Linked DNA regions of Homo sapiens: all the other regions are linked to region 3. The links are contacts of gene promoters, found by promoter capture Hi-C in blood cells and fetal thymus (Javierre and others, 2016). All regions are on one chromosome and are shown on one strand. The core of a region is centred on a gene start or on the middle of the fragment in contact, and the rest is flanking DNA. Distances in the headings are between cores, read along the strand shown. Region 1 has its middle 14 kb from the start of MAP1LC3C. Region 2 has its middle 36 kb from the start of BECN2. Region 3 holds the start of WDR64 (WD repeat domain 64).

What was found. Contacts are between HindIII fragments. The CHiCAGO score rates a contact against its expected background, and 5 or more counts as called.
Region 1: a contact is called between a fragment that was not itself captured here and the fragment with the promoter of WDR64 in region 3, in 5 of 17 cell types (total B cells, total CD4 T cells, monocytes and 2 more). The highest score is 7.4, in total B cells.
Region 2: a fragment that was not itself captured here is called in contact with the fragment with the promoter of WDR64 in region 3 in 5 of 17 cell types (activated CD4 T cells, naive CD8 T cells, naive CD4 T cells and 2 more); the score reaches 6.4 in activated CD4 T cells.

What each region holds. Positions count from the first base shown.
Region 1 is chr1:242,011,152-242,014,647 of GRCh38, forward strand. No RefSeq gene overlaps it. Among named protein-coding and RNA genes, the nearest start is that of MAP1LC3C, 14 kb to the left of the region's middle. The HindIII fragment of the contact is 7,750 bases long and covers 1-3,496 here.
Region 2 is chr1:241,919,474-241,923,122 of GRCh38, forward strand. No RefSeq gene overlaps it. Among named protein-coding and RNA genes, the nearest start is that of BECN2, 36 kb to the right of the region's middle. The HindIII fragment of the contact is 7,553 bases long and covers 1-3,649 here.
Region 3 is chr1:241,650,994-241,654,474 of GRCh38, forward strand. It overlaps WDR64 (WD repeat domain 64), which reads left to right and starts at 1,288. Exons shown (of 28, transcript NM_001367482.1): 1 at 1,288-1,636. The coding sequence starts at 1,492. The HindIII fragment of the contact is 1,763 bases long and covers 50-1,812 here.

The sequences.
Region 1 (3,496 bases), core at 446-2,945, 360 kb after region 3:
CTAAGGGTGGAAACTAATCTTTATGGAGCACATACACATGTTAAGTATTGAGATATGATTATTCCACTTTCTTATTTAATCTTTCTGGAAAAGAAAAAGACACCTGAAACTCAGAGAGTTGAAATAATTTGCTCAAGATCACTCAGTTGGTGAGATTTGAGTCTATGACTTTATGCCACTGAACCCCGTTATGACATAATGCTTTCCATTCTAGAATTTATTTTTATTTCTATTATTTATTTATTTTATTTATTATTATTATTTCTTGAGATGTAGTCTTGCTCTGTCACCCAGGCTGGAGTGCAGTGGCATGATCTCGGCTCACTGCAACCTCCGCCTCCTGGGTTCAAGCAATTCTCCTGCCTCAGCCTCCCAAGTAGCTGGGGTTATAGGTGCCTGCCACCACACCCGGCTAATTTTTGTATTTTTAGTAGAGACAGGGTTTCACCATGTTGGCCAGGCTGGTCCCGAACTACTGACCTCAGGTGATCCGCCCTCCTCGGCCTCCCAAAGTGCTGGGATTACAGGCATGAGCCACCGTACCTGGCCTCTGTTCTAGAATTTTTAAAGTTGGCTTAAAATAGAACCATCACCATCATAAGGAAAATAGTTCCTGAAACATTCCCCTAGCAGCTCCAGGGTTAGTGCTCTACATGCACAAAACCTCTATTCTTTATGCTGAATGGACCCCCAACTTCTTATTAAAACAGAATATGTGCCTAAGATTCCCCCAAAGTACAAACAACCCAGCTCCCAACCACTTTTCTCACAGGTACACCACTGGAAATGAAGGCCAAGTGGCCCAGACTGTGGCCGGACAGGCTGTTTCCAGGTCCTTGCCTGCCAGAAGGAATGAGCTGCGGCCTTTTTCCCAGCTCCCGCCATCCACTGCCAGAAAGCCCAGCTTCTCCCGCTCTGTGACTCAGCCTTGCAGGTGTTTGCGTCCCACTCCCACAGCACAACCCAGGATGAGGAATGATGCACTCACATCAGGAGGCATTAAGGGCTTAGTAATCCCTTAGACACAGGAAAGTAGAAAAAGGGGGGAAAATATCTAATGTGTTGGGTGAAGGAGTCTGGAAGCTGGCTGGGGAAGGACTGCAGGCTTTCCTAGAAGTAGCCAGCTGTCAAATTGCTTTTTTCAAGAGCCAGAGGCATTTCTTGTTTTCAGCATCTGTGGTGCTCAGGATCTGCCTGGACCTGGAGGAAACTGGGCATTAGTCCTGTTCTCTACTAGGAAACCCACTTCTAGCACCTTTAGAGGTTGGAGAAGGATGCAACAGTGACCTCTCACAAGAGTCTGCTGCTCTGAAGCCCTGGGAATGTATCAGCTTTGGCTACAGCCTTAATGCAAGCTGAGTCAGACATGTCTCAGCTCCCTGATTCTGGGAGTTTCTTTCTTGCTAGTGAACTTCTGCTTTCTATCTGTAAAAATGAAGACAAGTTATTGTCCAGCCTGGGCAGCATAGCAAGGTCTCATCTCTTAAAAAAATGGAGACAATTATTTTGGCTTCACAACAATATTAATTCTTTTTTTTTTTTTTTTTTGAGACAGAGTCTTGCTCTGTCATCCAGGCTGGATTGCAATGGCACAATCTCGGCTCACTGCAACCTCCACTGCCCGGGTTCAAGCGATTCTCCTGCTGCAGCCCCCCAAGTAGCTGGGATTACAGGTGTGTGCCACCACGTCCAGCTAATTTTTGTATTTTTAGTAGAGATGGGGTTTTGCCATGTTGGCCAGGCTGGTCTCAAACTCCTGACCTCAGGTGATCCACCTGCCTCGGCCTCCCAAGGATTACAGACGCGAGACACGGCTCCCGGCAACAATATTCATTCATTCTTAATTCCCCAATATTTATCGTATCTAACTTGTGATAGGTGTACTAGTATGTTATAGGGATACAACAGAAAAGTAAAAACTAGGCCGGACCCAGTGGCTCATGCCTGTAATACCAGCACTTTAGGAGGCCAAGGCGGGTGGATCACTGAGTTTGGGAGTTCGAGGCCAGCCTGGCCAACATGGTGAAACCCCCATCTCTACTAAAAAAATATAAAAATTAGCCGGGCATGGTGGCAGGCACCTGTAATCCTGACTACTCGGGAGGCAGAGGCAGGAGAATTGCTTGAACCTGGGGGGCAGAGGTTGCAGTGAGCCGAGATCGCACATTGCACTCCAGCCTGGGTGACAAGAGCGAAACTCCGTCTTAAAAAAAAAAAAAACCCAACAGCATCTCTTACATCAAGCAGGGAGCCTACAGCTGAGTGGGGCAGCAGATAATGACCAAAGGAACTCAACTGTGCTACATGTGATGAAGAGGGGCCCGTGGTGCTGGGAGAGAATTTCTTAGGGAACCTGACTTAGTTGATGTAGAGGAAGGTCAAGGAAGTTTTCCTAAAATGATATTTGAGGTCATATGGTGTTAACCAGGCAAAGCAAGGCAATGGCATGAGGTGGGAAGAGGGGGTAGGGCAGTATTTGAGGCAATGGTAATAGCTTTGGAAAGAGGGGATATGGTTTGTTTAAGAAAGTGCTAGAAGCCAATGTGCTGGCATGTGCCTGTAGTCTCAACTACTCAGGAGGCCAAGGTGGGATGATTGCCTGAACCCAGGAGTTTAAAGCCAGCCTAGACAATGTAGGCCCCATCTCTTAAAGCGGAAAAAAAAAAAGAGAGAGAGAGAGAGTGAAGAGAAGAAAGTACTGGAGGCCACTGTGGCTGGGACCTCCAGGAGGAAAGCCATGTGGAATGGGGCTGAAGTCTCAGGGGCCCTACAGTGTGATTTTTATTGTAAAGTCAATGCAAACCACTGAAACCACCTAAACAGAGAAGAATGGATTCAATTTGCAGTTTGAAAAACGTGTTCGGGTAGGACTGCAGAGAATAGACTGGAGGTGGGGCTATTGTCATTGTTTAGTGGAGAAAAGTTGGAAGTTTGGCTTAAGAAGATCAACGGCATAGAATGAAATAACTCTTAGTTTATGGCTTAAGCAACTGGAGTTCATGTTGAAGAGAGCTGAAGACATGGGTGTTGCTGAGATGCCTGGGGAGAAAATATCTAGTAAGAAAAGAGGGGAGCTAGGTCGGAGCCTAGAGCAATTCTAATCATCAAAGACGGTAGAGAAGAGGCTGAGCCTGCCAATGAGACACAAGTGAATTAATGAGATGGGGTGAAACCAGAGACTGTGTGATGGAAGCAAGGTGTATGCCTCAAAGGAGGGACTGTCACTCAAATCTTGCTGAGGACTGAAAAAGAGGGAAAATGCTTTTTTTTTTTTTCTCCCCAGACAGGGTCTTGCTCTGTTGCTCAGGCTGGACTGCAGTGGCATGATCACAGCTCACTGCAACCTCAACTTCCCAGGCTCCAGTGATCCTCCCGACTCAGCCTCCCACGTAATTGGGACCAAAGTTGCACACCAGCACGCCCGGCCAACTTTTGTGTTTTTGGTAGAGACAGGGTTTTACCATGTTTCCCAGGCTGGTCTCGAATCCCTGAGCGC
Region 2 (3,649 bases), core at 298-2,797, 270 kb after region 3:
AGGCATGAGCCATTGCGCCCGGCCCTACACTGCATATTGCATGAAAAATATAGTGTGGCCACGTGAGAAAACATGTATGCTGACACTGGCCGAGTGGGAAGGAGCAACAAGGATGAACTCCTATCGTTGATGGTTGGGTCCACCAGGCATTAGGAACACATACACTTTACAGAGCTGCATGTGATGTGAGGACGTTTGCCCAATTTCTTTCCACTGTTGCTCATGGTCTAACCCCTACAGTGGATTCTCTTGGTCCTCCTTAATCCACAGGAGTGAACCTTGTCCTCTACCAAACTGAGTGAGAGTTTGACAGGGTGGCCTGAATTGATTCTGAAATGCACTAGGGTGGGGAGCTGGGATGTGAAAATCCAGTCGTTTATAGGTGAGGGTAGAGGGGGGTGGATGCCAGCTGGGCAACCAGTGTCTGATCATCCACCAATGCTCATGATTGAACTAGCAGAGTCAACAAGCCACAAGGGTGGCGGCTGAAGGTCAGAACGGGGTGGGTCAGCCATGGGGAAGGCAGGCTCACAAATGTGCGAGGAAGCACACAAAAAACACTATTACTATATCATTTGTTCATGATGCCAAATGATATATTTTTTCCTTTTTTTTTTTTTTTTTTTTTTGAGACAAGGTCCCACTCCAACATCCAGACTGGAGTGCAGTGGCGTGATCACGATTAACTACAACCTCAGCTTCCTGAGCTCAGGTGATTCTCCCACCTCAGCCTCTGCAATATCTAGGACTACAGGTGTGTATCACTATGCCCAGCTAATTATATATATATATGTGTTTTGTTTTTTTTTCCTGAGACAGAGTTTCGCTCTTGTTGCCCAGGCTGGAGTACAATGGCACAAGCTCGGCTCACTGCAACCTCCACTTCCCAGATTCAAGCAATTTTCCCGCCTCAGCCTCCCAAGTAACTGGCATTACAGGCACACATCACTATGCCCGACTAATTTTCTGTATTTTTAGTAGAGACGGGATTTTACCATGTTGATCAGGCTGAACATGAACTTCTGACCTCGTGATCCACCCACCTTGGCCTCCACGAACTCCTGAACTTATGACTCCTGATCCACCCACCTCGGCCTCCCAAAGTGCTGGGATTATAGGCATGAGCCACTGCGCCCAGCCAATTTTTTATACTTTTTTTGGAAGGAACAGGATCTTGCTAAGTTGCCCAGGCTGGTCTCACACTCCTGGGATCAAGCAATACTCCCACCTTGGCCTCCCAAAGTGCTGGAATTACAGGCATGAGCCACGGCCCTAGGCTGATATATTTTTTTCATTTGTCAAAAAATATAAAAATGTATCTTTTGGATTTTTGTGGCACCTAACTGTGGGCCACTGTAGCAGAAGACTCAGCTCAGGTTTCTGCATCCAGGTGGGGAAGACAAACATGTACACAGAAAACTGCAATAGGGCCGGGTGCAGTGGCTCACACCTGTAATCCCAGCACTTTGGGAGGCTGAGGCAGGCGGATCACAAGGTCAGGAGATGGAGACCATCCTGGCCAACATGGTGAAACCCTGTCTGTACTAAAAATACAAAAATTAGCTGGGTGTGGTGGCACGTGCCTGTAATCCCAGCTACTCAGGAGGCTGAGGCAGGAGAATGGCGTGAACCCAGGAGGCAGAGGTTGCAGTGCGACGAGATCATGCCACTGTATTCCAGCCTGGTGACAGAGCAAGACTCTGTCAGAAAGAAAAGAAAAGAAAGAAAGAAGGAAGGAAGGAAGGGAAGAAAGGAAGAAAGAAAGGAAGGAAAGGAAGGAAAGAAAAGGAAAGGAAAGAAAAGAAAGAAAAAGGAAAACGGCAACAGAGTGTTCTAGGCAGGATGATACAGAGGGCCTGATATGGAATGGTGGGGCTGCAATGGGGAGAGTAGCCAGTTGTGCCTGGGCTTGGAGTCGGAGTAGAGGGGCAGGTGAGTTTTCATGCAGAACATGGCACTTGAGTGGAATCTTCCAAGACGAGGAAGTAACTGCAGATGATGAAGAGTCTAGAGATTAATTCTTAGTCTAGGGAGCAGATGGGGCAGAGGAGGAACATAAAGAAACAGCATGGGCCAGGTGTGTTGACTCACGCCTGTAATCCCAGCACTTTGGGAGGCCAAGGCAGGCAGATCACCTGAGGTTGGGAGTTCGAGACCAGCCTGACCAACATGGAGAAACCCCATCTCTACTAAAAATACAAAATTAGCTGGGCGTGGTGGCGGGTGCCTATAATCCCAGCTACTCAGGAGCCTGAGGCAGAAGAATTGCTTGAATCCGGGAGGCGGAGATTGTGGTGAGCCGAGATCGCACCATTGCACTCCAGCCTGGGCAACAAGAGAGAAACTCTGTCTCAGAAAAAAAAAACAAAAAAAAACAAAAATAGAAACAGTATGACCTGTAAGAAGAGGGGTGGTTTAGCTAGTGTGGGACTCACCCCGTGTGTTAAAGTGGAAAAGAGACAGCAGAGACGGAGCTAAAGAGGGAGGGATGAGAAAGGGCTTTAGGTTTACACTTCCCCCTCGATGAGCAAGAGGCTACCACAAATCATGGCTTTGCATTTTATTTTCATTTTTTAACATTAGAAAATTCTATTAACCAGACATGGTGGCATGCGCCTGTAATCCCAGCTACTCAGGAGGCCGGGGCAGGAGAATCACTTGAACCCGGGAGGCGCATGTTGCAGCGAGCCGAGTTCACACCACTGCACTCCAGCCTGGCAACAAGAGCGAAACTCCGTCTCAAAAAAAAAAAAGAAAATTCTATTTAGATTGAAATACAGCATACAAAGTTATTGTGCCACACTAAAAATAACAGCAACATTTTCGATATGATTCCTAGATAAGCCATGAAACAGTAATTTTTGCAAACTTTTCAGTTTATGGAAGAGAATCTACAGTTATAAATCAAAACAAGGCAGCCGATACAGCCATGGGAAGATCTCTGCCTTGGAGTTTTTTTTTTTTTTTTTTTTTTTTTTGAGACAGAGTTCCGCTCTGTCACCCAGGCTGGAGTGCAGTGGCACAATCTCAGCTCACTGCAACCTCCACCTCCTGGGCCCAAGTGATCGTCCCACCTCAGCCTCCCAAGTAGCTGAGACTGTAGGGGTGCACCACCACTCCCGGCTAATTTTTGTATTTTTGGTAGAGACGGAGGTTCACCATGTTGGCCAGGCTGGTCTCAAACTCTTGACCTCAAGTGATCCACCCACCTTGGCCTCCCAAAGTGCCGGGATTATAGGAGTGAGCCACAGTGCCAGGCTGGATTTTTTTTTTTTTTAATCACAGTAGAAGCAATAGAGGGTGTGGACTGCAGAGCACCAACATAAGAGAACAGGCCAAGGAGGACTTCGGGGAGGGAGCTGGGTAGTCATGGTCAGAGAGTTGGCCAAAGAGTCTGCCTGGAGTAAGAGATTCAGAAAAATCAAGTAGAAGAATGCTGAGAAGAGAGAGGCCATCAGTGTCACTGAGGGTGAGGCTGAGGGCAGGTCAAGCGAACATGCACCGAAGAAGAATTTGGCAATTGGGAGATCACGGGGAATTTTAGAAAGAATTTTCAGCGGGGCGCGGTGGCTCATGCCTGTAATCCCAGCACTTTGGGAGCCTGAGGCAAGCAGATCACTTGAGGTCAGGAGTTTGAGACAAGCCTGAC
Region 3 (3,481 bases), core at 38-2,537:
GAATTGTAGGAAGAGTGGTTCTCCAGACATCACTGTACAGTGGTTTGAAAGCTTTAAAGGAAAAAGGAGGAGAAACAAATGGGGTTGGGGGATTTTTCTTTAAATAAAATCTTACTGCGCTCTCCTAACAGATAGTTAGAGGTGGACACCAAGAAGACAGTACTGGAATTGGAGGTGCTCTGAAATGCCATCTGCTTCATCTCTGAATGCAAGTTCTTGAAGAATGTTTTAAAAGATGGACTACCAAGGGGTAGGAAATTTATCTAACTCACCTAAGCCATAGGAAGTTAACTAATTGTTGAGAAACATTAAACAACTTCTCCTTCCCATAAAAAGTTGAAAATTGGAAAACCGGAGTCAATAGCATTTGGACTAAGTCGGATTGGAGATTGCAATGACTGGGAAGGAGATGTGCAGAAAGGCCTCTTCTAATTCATCTGACCTCTTACCTTGAAAAGCTGTCCTCATAATCAGAAGCCACTCCTTCCTTATCCTTGGCTCACTTTATTATTTCAATCGAAGGACAATGCACAAAGGAAGAAGAGCATTTGTATTCCCTATGACCTCTAAAAATGTTTGTGGTAGAAATGACAGGTGCTGAAATACATTTCATCTTTAGAAGTTCGAATTTCCATATCCAGTACAGTGGCAAGAATAAGTGTGAATATTACTTTTTTTTTTTTTTGAGAGGAAGTCTCACTCTGTCACCCAGGTTGGAGTGCAGTGGTGTGATCTCAACTCACTGTAACCTCTGACTCCCAGGTTCAAGTGATTCTCTTGCCTCAGCCTCCTGAGTAGCTGAGATCACAGGTGCCCGCCACCACATCCAGCTAATTTTTGTATTTTTAGTAGAGACGGGGGTTTCACCATGTTGGCCAGGCTGGTCTTGAACTCCTGACCTCAGGTGGTCCACCCACCTCGGCCTCCCAAAGTGCTGGGATTACAAGAATGAGCCGCCGTGCCTGGCCAAACTTTACTTTCCGCGGTATTGTGAGGAAGGCAAAAGGTTTGAGGTGAGAAGAGATACACGAGGGAGAAAGTATTACCCAGTTTTCTTACTTGTTATTTACTCATTCCTTTTCCCTCTCAAGCAGTATACACAACACACACATGTGCACGCGCACACACACACACAGTCTGTGGGGAAAAAAATATCTCAATCTCCTCCTTATGAAGGAAGTAGGATGTTACAGAGATATTATGATGCAATGAGGACCCTATGAAGGACACTGATGACATTGTGAGGTCAGGATTTTTACTGAAATGTTTGTCTGTATGAAATGCATCAGACCTAAATCAGCTTTCCTCCCTGCTAACATCCTAGTGGCAACTCTTACTCCTACCCGCACTATGGGATTTTAAGATCAAAGGAATTAGACCTAGGGCAAAAACTGAGACAGCAGGGAGGCACTGTAACAACTGGAAAGTTTTCCAAATTGGTAAACTTGCAGTATTCTTTCTGTACAGAAGTAAAAGATCCCCTATGTCCCTATGGATATCAGGAAGGAAAAGCGTCTCAACATGGCACTTCAGATGAGCAATTTCAAAAAGGCTTTGAACAGGTTTGAAAAATTGGTTGAACAAACAGCAGCCCAGAAAAGAGATGAAAGAGCAGGCTTATTTATCCATAAAGAAGGTAAGATCAGTGATTACACGATAGTCCAATTGGGTCTGTTGGTTAGAACTGGAAAATGTTTTAAGCCATCAGAGAGAAGCATCAGAGCTTAATGTGAAAGAATGGGTGCTGAAAGGGGATGAAGACCTCAGTTCTTGTTCTTTCTCTGTCCCTAAATAACAAAGCGGACATGAGGAAGCTTTTGTTTTGTTTTGTTTTTGTTTTTGTTTTTTTTTTTTACTTCTCTGAACCGAAGTTGCTTCAATTGTAAAACTATGGGATTGGATTAAATGACGTCCAGTGTTCTTCTGTAGACGCTGCCATTTGATGGCTCACTGGTTGACCTGGGATGCTCAGTAATGTATAGCACTGCTTTTTCTTAGCCTAAAGATATCATGAGACCATAAAGACTTTCATAAGAAGTGCAGCTTCCTGCCTCACCATGATTCCATTGTCTTGGCCACTCTCCATATCTCTAGGCAGGAATGATCTTGAGGATGCAAGCTAAGGAGAATATGGTGGACAGTGGTCTTACAGGAGGATTTGCAGCAGAGATGCCAGTGCATAGACAAGATTCAAGGGGAGTGGTGTAGTGTACAGCTTTGGCGTATTGAGGACAGCTGTGAAAAATAAAGCTACATGGCAGAGTGAAAGACTAACAGAACAAACCCTGCTGTTGCAATGAAAGGAGCAGAGCCCATATAATTGCTAAAGGGATAGTATAGCCAGCCTCTGAGTGTGCCAGGCTGCATAGTAATTTGTAAGTGAAAATCTTGACTTTGGGTGTTCAAACCCAAGCTGGTATTAATTGAATAGTATTTAATAATTTATAGTCATGTTAATCAATGTCATTATGTTCATTTTATTTGTGGAAAAAATGGGAGCTGAAGATAAATCATTTGCCCAAGTTACCCAAATTCTTTTCTTTTCTTTTCTTTTTTTTTTTTTTTCTGAGACGGAGTTTCATTCCTATTGCCCAGGCTGGAGTGAAATGGTGCGATCTCGGCTCTCTGCAACCTCTGCCTCCCAGGTTCAAGTGATTCTCCTGCCTCAGCCTCCCAAGTAGCTGGGATTACAGGCACCCACCACCACACCCGGCTAATTTTTTGTATTTTTAGTAGAGACGGGGTTTCACCATGTTGGCCAGGCTGGTCTTGAACTCTTGACCTCAGGTGATCCACCTGCCATGGCCTCCCAAAGTGCTGGGATTACAGGTGTGAGCCACCGTGCCCGGCCAAAGTCACCCAACTTCTAAGTGTTAAAGCTAAGACTTGGACCTTTTGGATATGCTTTTTCGGTGATTGGGAACTTGACTGGGCCTTCTAAACTACTCAACAAAACTTGCATTTTTTCCTAGTCAGTTTGTTTTACCTCTCTCTAATTGGTTTTTCAAACCCTTGACACTTTTTCTGAATTCTCTATGGGATGTCTGCTTCTCTCAGCCAAGTTTTCTACGTCATAAAAGAAAGCAAGGTCAAAAGACAAGAATTCTCTCAAACCCCCCTTTTCCACTTCTGAATCACTGAAAGCAGCAGCTGTCCTTTCTATTTCTCCTCCCCTTCAAAGCTATCAGTTTGCTGCAGCAGCTTCAAAATCTCCTTTTCTACTGGATTTGTCCTCTCAGTCTAAAAATATACTCAAGCATCATGACCTTGACTTTCTCTTTTCTTTAAGCTACCACTGTATGCCTCTCCTTTCCTTCTCCACTGAATTTCCTGACAATATCACCACTTAACTTTCAATCTACTCAGGTCTGGCTTCTCTGATCACTTTGCTGAAAATGCTCTAACCAAGCTATGTGATAAGCTAATATAGTTGCCAAATTCAATAAATTGTTTTCATTTTCCAGCCTACTTGGCCATTGCA